Regions from separate parts of the Homo sapiens genome. Here all the other regions are linked to region 1. Evidence: promoter capture Hi-C in 16 types of primary human blood cells and fetal thymus (Javierre and others, 2016). All regions are on one chromosome and are shown on one strand. Each heading gives the region's core, a stretch centred on a gene start or on the middle of the fragment in contact. The rest is flanking DNA. Distances are from core to core; before and after follow the strand shown. Region 1 holds the start of CLCN1 (chloride voltage-gated channel 1). Region 2 overlaps EPHA1-AS1 (EPHA1 antisense RNA 1). Region 3 overlaps EPHA1-AS1 (EPHA1 antisense RNA 1). Region 4 overlaps EPHA1-AS1 (EPHA1 antisense RNA 1). Region 5 overlaps EPHA1-AS1 (EPHA1 antisense RNA 1).

What was found. Contacts are between HindIII fragments. The CHiCAGO score rates a contact against its expected background, and 5 or more counts as called.
Region 2: a contact is called between a fragment that was not itself captured here and the fragment with the promoter of CLCN1 in region 1, in 3 of 17 cell types (M0 macrophages, M2 macrophages and M1 macrophages). The highest score is 6.5, in M0 macrophages.
Region 3: a fragment that was not itself captured here is called in contact with the fragment with the promoter of CLCN1 in region 1 in 1 of 17 cell types (M0 macrophages); the score reaches 5.1 in M0 macrophages.
Region 4: a fragment that was not itself captured here is called in contact with the fragment with the promoter of CLCN1 in region 1 in 3 of 17 cell types (M0 macrophages, M1 macrophages and M2 macrophages); the score reaches 11.4 in M0 macrophages.
Region 5: a fragment that was not itself captured here is called in contact with the fragment with the promoter of CLCN1 in region 1 in 1 of 17 cell types (M0 macrophages); the score reaches 6.0 in M0 macrophages.

What each region holds. Positions count from the first base shown.
Region 1 is chr7:143,314,795-143,317,494 of GRCh38, reverse strand. It overlaps CLCN1 (chloride voltage-gated channel 1), which reads right to left and starts at 1,384. Exons shown (of 23, transcript NM_000083.3): 1 at 1,103-1,384. The coding sequence starts at 1,282. The HindIII fragment of the contact is 3,265 bases long and covers 568-2,700 here.
Region 2 is chr7:143,481,999-143,484,832 of GRCh38, reverse strand. All of the region lies in intron 2 of EPHA1-AS1 (EPHA1 antisense RNA 1), which reads right to left. Among named protein-coding and RNA genes, the nearest start is that of TAS2R41, 5.5 kb to the right of the region's middle. The HindIII fragment of the contact is 986 bases long and covers 1,073-2,058 here.
Region 3 is chr7:143,457,748-143,460,602 of GRCh38, reverse strand. The region is part of intron 2 of EPHA1-AS1 (EPHA1 antisense RNA 1); the gene reads right to left. Among named protein-coding and RNA genes, the nearest start is that of TAS2R60, 16 kb to the right of the region's middle. The HindIII fragment of the contact is 4,169 bases long and covers 1-2,855 here.
Region 4 is chr7:143,499,751-143,502,450 of GRCh38, reverse strand. The region is part of intron 2 of EPHA1-AS1 (EPHA1 antisense RNA 1); the gene reads right to left. Among named protein-coding and RNA genes, the nearest start is that of TAS2R41, 23 kb to the right of the region's middle. The HindIII fragment of the contact is 963 bases long and covers 848-1,810 here.
Region 5 is chr7:143,516,289-143,518,988 of GRCh38, reverse strand. EPHA1-AS1 (EPHA1 antisense RNA 1) reads right to left here. Exons shown (of 5, transcript NR_033897.1): 4 at 472-707; 5 at 1-58. Among named protein-coding and RNA genes, the nearest start is that of TAS2R41, 40 kb to the right of the region's middle. The HindIII fragment of the contact is 321 bases long and covers 1,090-1,410 here.

The sequences.
Region 1 (2,700 bases), core at 135-2,634:
GGGTGAATTACCTGAGGTCAGGAGTTCGAGACAGCCTGGCCAACATGGCAAAACCCCGTCTCTACTGAAAGTACAAAAATTTGCCAGGTATGGTGGCAGGTGCTTGTAATCCCAGCTACTCAGGAGGCTGAGGAAAGAGAATTGCTTGAACCCGGGAGGCGGAGGTCGCAGTGAGCCAAGATAGCACCACTGCACTCCAGCCTGGGAGACAGAGCGAGACTCCATCTCAAAAAAAAAAAAAAAAAAAAAAGTTCTGGCCAACTGCCCTCTAGACAAATTCTATCCTCTGTTATTCTCTGCATTCTTTGGAGGGAGAGGCACACTTACTTATTAACCATGACCTATCTTTTTCCATGACAATTTCACAACCTTTCCTTTAGTTGTGCCCATCCCCATTCCCCCTTTCCTAGGTGTTCATATCCCACCAATCCCACAGCGGGAGGCTGCTCATCCATAGACACTCCTAATTAGCCTGCATGCTTCTGTTGCTGGGATCACATCTCTGCCCTTTTCCAGGTGCCTAACACTTAATAGGTTCTTACTTGATCATCTTGCGACCTAAAAGCTTGTACATCTCTGCTCATTTTGACGTTGGTAGATCTTTGATCACTGATAAGCAATTCAGTCTGTTTTCTACACTTGCCCAATTCCTTTCTTCTGCCTTCTGCAGAAAGATTCATGTTTGTGTGTATTCTGCAGAGGGTCCCAGAGGCAGAAATCTGGCAGTGTCTACCTGTGGGTGAGGGTGTGGGAGACAGCTCCCAGCACACTGCAGTGTGGGCTCCTACGCAATCCACTCCACGTAGGTTATGTAAGCACGAGCTATTCATGCATGTGAGGCTCTGCTGTTTCCCCATATGATTTGGGTACTCTGTTGGTAAAGGTTGTATGAAAGTGCATGCATATCTCTCTAAGTGCATACTTAAGTGAGCCCAGACTTTCAAAGATTTTCATATTTTGAACACATCACCACGTACTTGTTTTTTAAGTTAAAAAAATGTAACACTGCTCCCTCTTTTCACCCAATTCCTCATTTTCACCAGTCTCTGGCACCACTGTCTCCCCTCATCCATGGCTCCCCTCTCCCCTTAGAGCACTTTACCTGTGTGGGGTGGACGTTGTGGCGGGGGCCTGCATCCTTCCGGAGCCTGTGCTGGAGGCCCCCATTCTCAGAGGGCAGTCCGTAGCTGGTGCAGTGTTCAAAGGGCATATACTGGTACTGGGGGTCACTACCCCACCAGCTTTGTTCACCCCCACGCTGCTGTGACCGGGATTGCTCCATATTCCCTCCCCCCGAGCCCCGGCCAGGCCTTGGCCTGCTTGCCCCTGTCCTTCCCCCAGTGTAGCTCCTTAAGCCTCTGCTCTTGCTGTCCCCAAGGCGTCTGGGGCAGCATGCCCACCTCCAGCTATTTATAGACCCCTCTCCGTCACATGACCCCCCACTGCCACATCTGATCTGCTTGGGGTCGAAGCAGGTGTGAGTGCAGTGTGGGGGTGGGGGTTGGGATGAGAACCTGAGGGACAGCCCCACAGGGAATTCCCTCTGCTGAGCCAGTGGCATTGTCCCCCTTCTTAGTCACCAGTAGTAGGCTTCCAGCTCCATGTCACTGGTCCCTCTATAAATATCGCCTGGACCAGGATGAGAAACTGCTGAGTATGCTCTCAAACCTATGTGTAGAGCCGGATCTGCATGGAAGCCCTCCAGTTGCCCATCTCTCTTCTTCAGGATGCGGAAGGTGAGGGGTGGGTGCTGGATAAAGATGAAGCGACTCGAAGTTCTGGAAACACTGGCACATTAACTCACCTGGGAAAGTAACTGGTGCCTCTCTGCCACATCTCCTGGCCAGCTTGTTCCCAACTCTGTGTCCACCCAGGGTTCTGTCTGGCCAGCTCTGCCAGCCCATCCCATGTCCAGCGTTCTTCTCTAGCTCTTTGCCCTTCTGTCTGCCAGAGGCTGCTAATAACAGCTTGGGGGCATCCCCTGATCCCATCCTTATCACTCACTGGGTGTGGAACACTTATGGGAAGTGGGAAGTCGAGGGTCGGTAATAGCCTTGGGTTCTAGAATTTCTCCCACTTCCCAGACTGTTAGGTGTCAGCCACACTGCCAACCCGGAGGGACTGAGCTTCCATTTGGACTGTGGAGTGCCCACACTGGCTCCATCAGATAGATAACAAGGGAGATAACAGGGGAGAATCGAAAGTAGAAAGAGGCACAGGGAAGGGAGAGGTGGGAAAGGGGTGAGGGCTTCTCATGACAAGCCCGACAAACATGAAAGATGATGGGGAAGTGCTCTCTGCTATTCTTCCCTTTTCAGGTCAATAAATACTTTTTTGGCCAAGGACAAACTTTTCTTCCTGGCATCACGTTATAAAACCAATTTTCCTATGACATGTCTTCCCTATGAACTCTTCACTGTAGGAGAAAAGATATGAACTGAGCCAAAGTAAAGTTTAGGATGCATTACCAAGTGGGGTCTGTCCCAGGACAGTCCAAGTTCAGGGACTGCAGGGTAGGGACACCAAACATCTGGTCTACAATGTGATTTTGACCTAGGCTAAATGGAACCACCCAAAGCAGGAGGGAAGCCAATATCATTAAAAGTACTTTTTCTAGGGCCTCAACATCATTAATCATCAGGAAACCAAAATCATAATGCAATATCGCCTCATACCTGTTAGGATGGCTATTATCAAAAA
Region 2 (2,834 bases), core at 316-2,815, 170 kb before region 1:
GCTGGGATTACAGGCATGAGCTACCGCGCCCGGCTAAACAGGACGTTCTTATTGCTGAAATCTTTTTTAAAAAATCAGTAAGATGGTTGAAAGATAAAGTAAAAGAACTCTCTAAGAATATAGAATAATCGATTTTGAAAAATAATACAGGCCTTCTACTCCCAGACGTGAAGAAGTAACAGGACAGAATTACCCAGCTACCACAAGCAACTAGAAGACTGGAAAACAGTTTAAAAACATTGTTTTCAGATATGAAAAAAACAGCACAAAACTGTGATTACTGTGAGAAGGAAAAATAATGAGGTGATTCTTACAATCACCCAGATTTTCTGCCAGGAGGCAATATCCAGATTGTAGCACAAAGAGAGAATTTAAACAGACCTGGAAATCTTGCTCAGTGAAGGATGCGGAGATTAGAGGGAAAAATAAGCTACACAGGAAAATGGTTCCAGAAATCAGTCTTTGAGTCCTTGGCTAAACACCAATCCGTATGTGAGTAGTGTGAAACCCTGTAAGACTGAGAAAAAAACAATCTCCAAAGAAAGAAAAAATGCTGGAGTGCTATAAAACAAACAATTCCCAGAACTCCTACGGGGCCAGGATTCATTTTAGCACTCTTTGGCCAGAGTGAAGAAACATTACTGAATATACAAAGCACTCCATATGAGTTGCAAAGATGCTATGTCTTAGAAGTTGAGCAAAATTAGTAGCCCTAGAAAAAGACTACCATAGACCTACCCTAAATTTGCTTTTAAAAAAATCAAAAGCATCAAACTAATTTACAAGTAACTGTCAGAAAAAGTCTAAAATGCTTCAATAGAAAACAACAAAACCAAGTATTAAATAACTTAAGATTTCTAATTTACAACATTCAGTAAAAAATTACTAGACCTTAAAAAATCAGGAAAATAAGATTCATAACCTGGAACAGATTGGTCAACAAACACAGGCCTAGAAACAGAAGAAACTAAACAAGACTTGTAAAGATGAAAAATAAAATACGTAAAATTTAAATTTCACTAGATGGAATTAACAATAGTTTAGGCACTGTAAAATAAAATAATAGTAAGCTTGACCTCCTGAATGTATAAGCATCTAACAGCAGAGCTTCAAAATATATGCAGCAAAAAAAGGACAAAAATTTAAAAAGGTATCAGGCCAGGCCCCATGGCTCATGCCTGTGATCCCAGCACTTTCGGAGGCCAAAGCAGGTGTATCTCTTGAGCTTAAGAGTTCGAAACCAGCCTGGGCAACATAGTGAGACACTGCCTCTACAAAATATTAAAAAATTAGCCCAGCATGGTGGTGCGTGCCTGTGGTCCCAGCTACTCCAAAGGCTGAGGTGGGAGGATTGCTTGAGCCTGGGGGGCAGAGGTTGCAGTGAGCTGTGATTGTGCCACGCACCATAGCCTACATGTCAGAGCCAGATTCTGTCTAAAATTAAAAATAAAAAAATACACAATTCGAGTAGAATAATTCAACACTTGCCTCTCAGTAAATGAACAAGTAGACAGAAAATCCGTAAGGATACAGAGGATATAGAAGACTTGAACAATGCTATCAACCAACAGGACCTAGCTGACATTTATAGAACACTCCATCCAACGTCAGCAGAATACACATCCATTTCAAGTGCACATGGAGCATTCATCAGGACTGATAATCCAGTGGGCCATGAAGCAAATCTCAAGAAATTTTAAAAGACTGAAATCATGCAGACTATGTCCTCTAATCACAATAGAATTAAATTTGAAATTAATGCCAGAAAGATAACTGGAAGATCTCACAAATATTTAGATATTAAACACTACTTGTTTGGTTAACCCATTGGCCAAAGCAAAAATGAAAAGGGAAATTGGAAAATCTTTTGAACTAAATAAAAATTAAAACACAATACTGTCTGTCAAAATTTGTGGTATGTCTTTTCAACAAACAGTGCTAAAACATTTGTATATTCATAAAGGGGGAAAATGAACCTCAATCCTTACCTCACTTCATATACAAAATTAACATGAAATGGATAAGAAACCTAAATGTAAGAGGTAAAACCATAAAGCTTCTAGAAAAACAAGAAAATCTTTGTGATCTTAGGATGGCAAAGATTTCTTGAGGTACACATAAAATCATGAACCATAAATGAAAAAAATTGTATACAATCCCATAAAGTATATTTCAATATATGGATGATTGTACTATATATTACCGACCTAATATTAACATTGATTACTTCTGGTAAAATATATAATGGAGAGAAGAATGAAGAAGGATGGAGGCATTTTATTTTCCTTAAATTTTTGTGTACTGTTTATAATTTTTTAAAATAAGATTCTACTACTTTCATAAAAATAAGAATAAACTTTTAAAATATATGTTCTATAGAATGTGCTGGCTGACACTTCTTTCAGAATGAGATCTCAGCACAAAGGAATACAAGCCCTGGGAACAGATAAGGTGGGGGCCAATAAGGGAAATGATTTTCTGAGGATTCCCACCCCTGTTTCCCTCACAAATTATAGTTCTTTGGCTTCCTCCACCACCTAGATGAGAGGATGAATTTTAAGAAGCCACTACTCAGTGTGATGTTCAGTCAGTCAGTTAGTCCCCCAACTCTAGATATCAGGCTCAGTTTAGAAACTAGAAAAACATACAATAAAAAGAGAAAACGCCCTCTCTACCTTTCAGTTAGTTAGAAGTGAGAAAAGAGAAGCAAAGGAGTCTGACTTGGTAGAGATTTTTTTCCAGCTCTAGCTCCTGGCTGCAGAAAAAGTAGAAAGTCCAGGTGTGTGAGATTCATACCCTTACTAAAACTATGGGGTGGGTGTTTCCCTTTTGCA
Region 3 (2,855 bases), core at 199-2,698, 140 kb before region 1:
ATGTAAAAAGTCAATATATTGAAAGCATGCTCCTTGGAAGATAATGCTATAATGCAGAATAGTATTGACTGAGAACCTTTGATAGGACTGGCCTATGATTTCTGCCTTGAACAGAAAAAAATGGAATGTTTACAAGAGTTGTCATGACATAGATAGGAAAACAACGAGCAAAGACATAAAGATTTTGCCAGAAATAAAATATTCAGATTCTATCCCTGTCCAGACTATCCTGCTGGACCTAGGAGAGGGAAACATCACTAAGGTAGAATAATTCTGAAACAACATTACCAAATCTATTTTATCCTGGTCCATTTAAAATTGCTGTGAAGGACCTAGAATAAAATTCTGCTTAGTAACTAATTTAATCACATATTTTACTCCTAAGGTTTATTTTTTGTTCTGTTTCATACTTTTCTATATTTGGGTATTCTAGAAGTTTGCAATCGGTGAAAACTAATGATTCCTCATGTGAAATGGTAAGAATTCCTTTGCTTATTCATCATTTTATATTGTTCATGCTTTTTCATCTATTTTTATATTTCAAAGTATCCTTTTATACTTTGGAAAGGCCTTGTGTCTGTCATTATAGATAAAGGAAATAGTCACAATATATGAAAAAAACAATATAAATTTAGTATTCTAATTTTGTAAAAGTATGTTTTTATGGTTGATATATTGGCATTGTATGTTTTTGTACAATGAGCATAATTCAGGGTGAGAAGATACATCTGGAAGGAGTCATGAGTGCCAACTATGATTATCTCCGTATAGTGAACATGAGGGATTTTTAACTTTTTAATAATAGTCTGTTTTCCATATTTTCTGCAATAATCATGTATTATCAAAAATAATATTTAAGTTTTAAAACTAATGAATTCTTTGTGATATTGCTGTGGTTTAAATGTGTCCCTCAAAATTCACATGTTGAAACCTAATTGCCAATGCAACCACATTAAGAGACTGGGCCTTTGGGGAAGTGATTAAGTCTATTTTATAAGAGCACTAATCCATTCTTGAGGGTGGAGCCTCATGAACAGATCAGTGCACTTACAAAAGAAATTGAAGGGAGTGCCCACATGCCTTTTGCCCTTTTGCCTTTTGCCTTTTTGCTCTTCCATCACTTTTGCCAGGTGAGAATGGCACCAAGAGAGGATGCCATCGATAGAGCAGTTCCTCACCAGACACTGAATCTGCCAGTGCCTTGATCCTAGACTTCCCAGCCTCAGAACTATGAAAATATAAATTACTATTGTTTATAAGTAACTCAGTCTCAGGTATTTTGTCATAACAGCAAGAACAGACTAAGACAGATGTTGTTAAGGAACTCTAAATAACTCTATCTCCACATTAGCCTTAACCTGCAAGACTAGATTTGAGGCTATTAAGAACTGATTTATCTGGCTTGGAGGATATCTGGATGGAGGAAGGGCAGAGCAAGACAGAACCGGTCACAGTATTTAAAGTCTCACCATTACACAGAGTTGTATATTAATCTTCTAAAGACGTAATTACTGCTGTCTTCTGGAAAATCGTCTATATAAATATTGAGTGTTGGACTAATTGATCCAATTAAACCTTTCAGCATGTCTGCCCTGCCTTTTCCTGCAAACACATGTTGCCACTACTAGTACCAGCAGGACCATCTTGCCACCACCATCATAACCTGAGGAATTCAGCCCCCATTCCCATCCTACAGACATAAAAAATGAGGGCCTGTAAGGGTAATGACTTCTCAAAGCCACAAAATAAGAGGCAGAAGAGAATGAACACTTAAACTTAGGTCTTGACTCCAAGACACTAACACATTCTTTAAGAGTCGTTGTGTCATCTGGTTTAGCTCTTTTCATCACCAATTTCATGCCTTGGAAGCCTTTTAATTTCGAAGATAAAGGCCAAAATTAGAACCCTGATAGCCTCCCCTTCCCAAATCTCTGCTAGTGTAAGACAAGGAGGAGGATGCCTACAGTAGAATGCCAGGGGTGGTGCAAGAAAGTGTTTGACCCTCATTTGGTCTTGGGAATTAGTGATTAGAAGGGCATCTGGCTGTGATTAGGGCACTTGACTAACTTATTCCAAATTTCTGGGTTCTGACTCAGGATTCTCTAAGTTCAGGAAAGCCATTTACAAATTTCAAGTCACGGCAAAAGAAAGGAAGTTTCTTTGAGGCTTTTGCAATTTTACTTCTCAGAGCTGGGTTACTACCGGTTGCTGCAGGACTGGGCTGGTCCAGGGAAACTGGAATCGAAACCATGCTAGTTCATAAAGTATGATGATGTCAGAAACAAGCACAGACCAATGTAGATCAATACTGCAAGTCAAGGAGGGAGTCAAAGACAACAATCATAGGGCTAGACCAAGCTGGAGCAAACAGGCCAGGAGCAGAGTCCTCCTTGGGAAACCACTTAACTTTTCCGATTATCTATAAGACAGTAGAACTTAAGCAGAATTTAGAATCCAAGGTTTAAACTCAGCAAAGAAATGTGAATGGAGAGCATAGGAAAGCAGAGGAAAATATCTCAAGGTTTAATTATTTTTTACTCGAATGAGAATGCTGTTGATTTTAGGACAGGGACTGCACTCTGTCACCCAGACTGGAGTGCAGTGGTGTGATCACAGCTCACTGCAGCCTTGACCTCCCCGGGCTCAAGCAATCCTCCCTTCTCAGCCTCCTGAGTAGCTGGGACCACAGGCGCATGCGACCACACCTGGCTAATTGTACTTTTTGTAGAGATGGGATTTTGCTATGTTGCCCAGACTAGCCTGGAACTCCTGGACTCAAGCGATCTGCCTGCATCAGCCTCTCAAAGTGCTGGGATTATAGGTATGAGCCATTGCTCCAGAATTTAAGATCCTTC
Region 4 (2,700 bases), core at 80-2,579, 190 kb before region 1:
CTTCTTCTTTAAACATTTCTTTGATAAGCAGAAACCTTCAAAATCATTCTACTGATCTTAATGCTACCTCAAACTAGCAGAGCAGAATTTTAAATCTATGTTTCATGGTGGCTATATTAATAATGATTATAGTGCTTCTCCCACCACAACTCAAAAAACTAAAAAACTCTAAAATCTAACCAGTGTCATATATAAAGCTTAGAGTCAGACCTCTGTCTCCATTTAGGAAATACTTGACATTGAGCCAGGCTTGTGTGGCCTAACCCAGCCCCAATTCTCTCCTTCCTCAAATGAAATAATATCTATGAAATTTCTTGAAATTAAGCACTGTACAAACATAAATTATTTTTATTTGTGGAAAAAGAAGTGGAACATTCTCCTAGCAAGATGAGAGCTGGAGAGTCATCTTTATTAAGGGAGCTGGGAGAATTTCACTGGATTCCTTTTCATTTGACTTAGAGGTAGATGGAGAGAGGAAGGAGGTCTGTAAGGCAGTTTCTCAGTCAGCACCCCTCACTTTCCTTCTCCATCTTCAAGACAGCTGCTGTATATTCACTATCAACAGGAACAAAGACAAGATGAAAAAGGGCTCCTGTGCCTCTGAACAGCTTCTGGACCTCAATTTACTCTTGGATAATCATTTCTGGCCCCTACACTCACTACCCTCTTTTGACCTCCCTCTGGCTCCAGTGTGCCCATGTCCACCCTACCTGGCCAGAAGATGGCTTCCTGAACTGGACTCTATCGTCACCTTTGTAGAGGGCTTAACCCAGTAGCCCTCTACAGGCTACAGTCAGCTTCCAGGATGTGAGGGAGCACTGAAACTTTCTGCATTTATTGCAAAGCTTGAGGAATAGTTTCAATTAACAGAGCTTCTAAAAAGGTGCTTCCAAAATATCTCTCACAACCTACCAAGGATGGCATAAAACACTTCAGGTTTGAGGCAGAGAACTGTTGGAACAGTTTGTATTTTGCGAAGGAGAAAAATATGAAAATGTTCAGTTTACAAGGCACAGCAGGATAGAAGTAAATGTGTGAGGAAATAAAAATTAATCTCTGTTTCTAGCATTGGCTTGACTGGCACCTTTCTTCTAAACTCTTCAAAGCATTTCAACATAAAAATATCTACTATTCACTGAGGGCTTATCATGGACTGGACACTGTGCTAAGTGCTCTGCATGGATCGTCTCATTTGATCTTCACAAAAGCCCGTGAGTCAGGTATTACCATCCTCCCCATTTTACATCAGAAGAAACTGAGGCAGTAGAGACTTTAACTTGCCCATTGCTGCAAAGGCACAAGGTAGGAACAAAGATTCAGACTTGCACATTCAGGGTCTAGAACCTACACCTTTAGCCACCAGGCTATGCAGCCTCCAGAGGGGTCTTGGTGGGCTAAGTAGATGAAACAACCTCCGCTACACAGAGTGCATGTGATACTGAAAAAGATTTGAAAATCTTGCGAAAATATCACAGCCACGATGGAATTCCCAGGTCCCAGACCACAAGATCTCAAATCTATTGTAGAAACTAAGGGGAACTGGTTTACTGAACAAGCTGAATTCACAAACTGTAATCAGAAAAGTGCTGTGTTCTTTCTCATCTCCATACACTCAAACCTGCACTATGGGGCTAGTCCTTCTCTGTGCCTTGGACTAAATCCATAACAAGTAGCATGAATGTTCTAGTTCCTCCCAAAAAATCAAAACGTTTTCATTCGCCTTAAGTCCCCAAAACATTCTCACTGCAGTCTTAAAAATATCCAGCCCAAGGTAAAATCAAACCTCTAAACCTTGTTTTAAGATAAAGCTTCTTCTGACTCCCAACCCCAAAAGCTTAAAGTGGGGAATGTTGGCTTCTTCTCTCTTCTCTAACCTTCCTAGCTTCCTCACCTCCCTCCCCTGCCTGGCCCCCACTAGACTGCTTCTGACTCCTCATGGGTTAGAGCAGGGGACAGAGACAGGTAAGAAGCAGAAATGTTCTTGTTGATGTGCAGTGGGGGAAGCACTTGGAGAGCAAGAAGGAGATCAGACTCAAGAAGACAAGAGAAAGTATAGAGAACAAAGCTGGAGGATCTTTAATCATGAATTAACCCCAGGGCAACCTGGGATGGGAGTAAGAAAAGAGATTAGAATCTGTGTTAGTTTCCCATTGCTGCTGTAACAAATTGCCACATATTTGTGGCTTAAAACAACGTAAATGTATTCTCTCACAGTTCTGGAAGTCGGAAGTTCAAAATCAATTTTACTGGGCTAGGGTCAAGGCATTGGCTGGGCTTGTTCCTTCTGGCAGCTTCAGAGGAAAACTCATTTCCTTGCCTTTTTTCAGCTTTTAGTGGCTGCTGGCATTCCTGGGCTTGTGACCTCTTCCTCAGGTCATTCTAACTTCTTGCTTCTACCTTCACATCTCTTGGCCTTTGGCGTGGGCTGCCAGTCATCCTGTTCCATTCAGCTCTTCATGGATACAGCCGACTGGGGCTGTGGATGTATGTGGGCAGGGGAGGGAATGAAGAAATGCAGCCAGGATAGGGCACACCGCAGCACCAAGCAGCTACAACATAATCAGATTGTGAGCATTAAACAGAAGGCATGTGGAGTAGTTTTCTAAAGCAGCCTGTTCGATTCTTTGTAAAAGGCCCTTCACGGTTTCCCCAGCTTGATATGGGCTTGGCCCTAAAGAGAAGACGGAGGCAGAAAGATCT
Region 5 (2,700 bases), core at 1-2,500, 200 kb before region 1:
TGCACAGAGGATTGCATGGTGAGAGGCATCCAGTGATGTGTTGTTTCTGTAGAATAATCTGTAAAAATAGAATTGAGGAAAATATTATTTCTTCAACTCTTAGAAGCAGAATAGAGAATATTCAAGAAGATGATATCCTTGATTATTTTTCAGCTCCATGGGAGAACAAATATTTGACCTCAGACAAAGCCTAGGAAGGAAAGTCTCCATGTATTACTCCTTTGTCTTGGTCAAAGAACAAAATCCCCAGGCCCCAGACCACATCAATAACAGGATCCGCCACTGAAGAGACTCCCCACTGATGAGACTGGGCCCCCCTCAGAGCCCAGCCTCGGGCCTCCTGAATCATTTAGGCATTTATTGCTCTTTCTCAGCAACCACAGGGATCTATTCTGGAAACACTAAGGCAGGCAATTGGATGGCAGGGAAATGATCCCGTTGGAAAGAGCCCCCGAAGCCAAAATCACTCACATCACTCTCAGGGGTGACAGATTTTCCAAGGGGCCTGCAACTTTCCGATGCAGCATTTGAAAATAATCAGCCACACTCCTGGAAAGTGGCTTGCCTGGGAGATCAACATCGTTTTTCTCACCAGTGTTTACTTTTGCATTTTGATGAATGATGAAAACACCTTGGCAGTACTGAGATAGCCTTGGTTTCCTCATCCAGGCAGCTCCCTTGCCCTGGTACTTCATTCCAGCTCTCATCTATGGCCAGCAAGAAACAGAAAAACATCTTTTAGAAGGAGGGTCTTGCTGGGTTTTCGAGGGAGATCACTTGCTGTTTTGTAGCACAAAATGATGTTTAGAAGTTTAAAGTATGTTCAAGTCTACTAAAATCAACTTCATGGAAAATGATAGTTATTTTTAGAAACAAATTTTGAAAACAAACTAGCTTCCCTATTAAATGCTAATATTTCTCAAGTAGATAAAGTAACTAATCCTCAGGCCTAGGGTCGTTTTCAAAATGTGAAAGTACAATATCATGCATCTATGTGTGATGAAGTTGACCTTCACAGCACCAGAACTGGGACAGTCCCTCCACCAGATAATTTTGATGTGGAACATTCAAGTGCTCATTTTTGAAGCTTATCCCTCGTCCTCTGGCAGAAGCCTGAGTTACAGACATTAGTTAAAACGGGTACTGCCTCATTGAAGTAAGGAATTTTTTTTTTTTTTAAGCATCAAAGTCAGCTCTAATATCAGCAGGACTCCTAGATTTTCCTGGTTCAAAGCTCCTCTCCAGATGAAAATAAAAGAGACCAGGGAGCCTGAAATGATGCTTTCCTCAAAGCCCTGATCCCATCATTGACTTCTGCAGAAAAGAGAACTGGCAGTGGCAACTATTCAGGAGGTCTAAACACAGGTGCACATGTTGCCGAGACTGGTAATTATGACTTGTCAGGAAGCTTGAGGGGAACGTGTTGGTCAAAAGGCAAAAACAAAGGTCGCATACTGACCCAGAACTAGCAGACTAAAAGACTGCCCATGTAACCATCATGTTAAAGAAGGGCTCCAGGGCTGATGCCACAGCTACCCAGGATATCTCATTTGTATAACGTGCAGGATCACTAAACACTTCAGAAAACACCATAAAGGGGGAAAAGCAAGAATGTTTGTGTAAGGAAAACATTCCCTATTGAATCTGTTAATAGTTAAATGCTTTTGAGAGAGAAAGAAGCCAACAAGAAACTAACAGAGGGTTTCTTTTATTTAGACTTTCAAAAGACCTTGACAAGATCTCATACCAAATTTAGTCATCACAGATTCAGTAGGCGGCTTTATCATGTAAAAGGAACTGGCTCACAAGACAGAAACACCATGCAGGCAAATAACACATATCCCAGCGATGGAGGCTGAGATCATAAAAGGTTGGGGAGGGACAACACAGTGAAGTTGATAAATCCAGAGATGACATTTACCTCCTTTCAGTAAAGGAATTACCAAATTGATGAGGAAAAAAAAAAACACTAAAAAATGTGGAAGTTTGCATGACAGCAAAAAAAAAACAAGAAGAATAGTAAATGAGTTTTCTTTTATAAAATAAATTTAAATTTAACATATATAATGCAAATATATGTAAATTAATTATTTTCAAGTTATCTGTCATAAACCAAGAAAAAGGCCTGTATGATGTAGGGAAAGGAGGCATTACAGTAATTGCAGTTGTCGGCTGCTATGCAGAGGGAGCACAAAGACTGACATGACATTGTAGAAGACAGAGTAGTCAAATGAAATGATTAGAAACCACCTTTTGTTAGCTTCTTCATGCCTGGTACTATGTAATGGGCTTTCTTTATAATATGCCTGATTCTCACAGCAACCCTATGAATTAGGCATCATTATCTCCATTTAGATGTAGAGACTGAGGATCATGGAAATTGAGTACATCAACCAAAGTCAATATGGCACATAAGTGATTAAGCCAGGATTTTAATCTAGTGATGTCTTCTTCCATAGCTTGTACAGTCTCAGAAAGACAGTAGGAAGTGCAGGAGGGAAAATAAGTGGAAAGATAGAAATAGGTGGATAGATAGAAGACAGACAGACAGATAGACAGACTTCCCTACATCTATGTCTACTCATCTCCTCATAAGGTTCCCACACCCAGATATACACTCACTTTACTTCTTGCACCTCAGAAAGAGAAAAGGCACTAGGTAATCCCCTGAAACAGCACGCTTATGGAGAGTTCCATGGT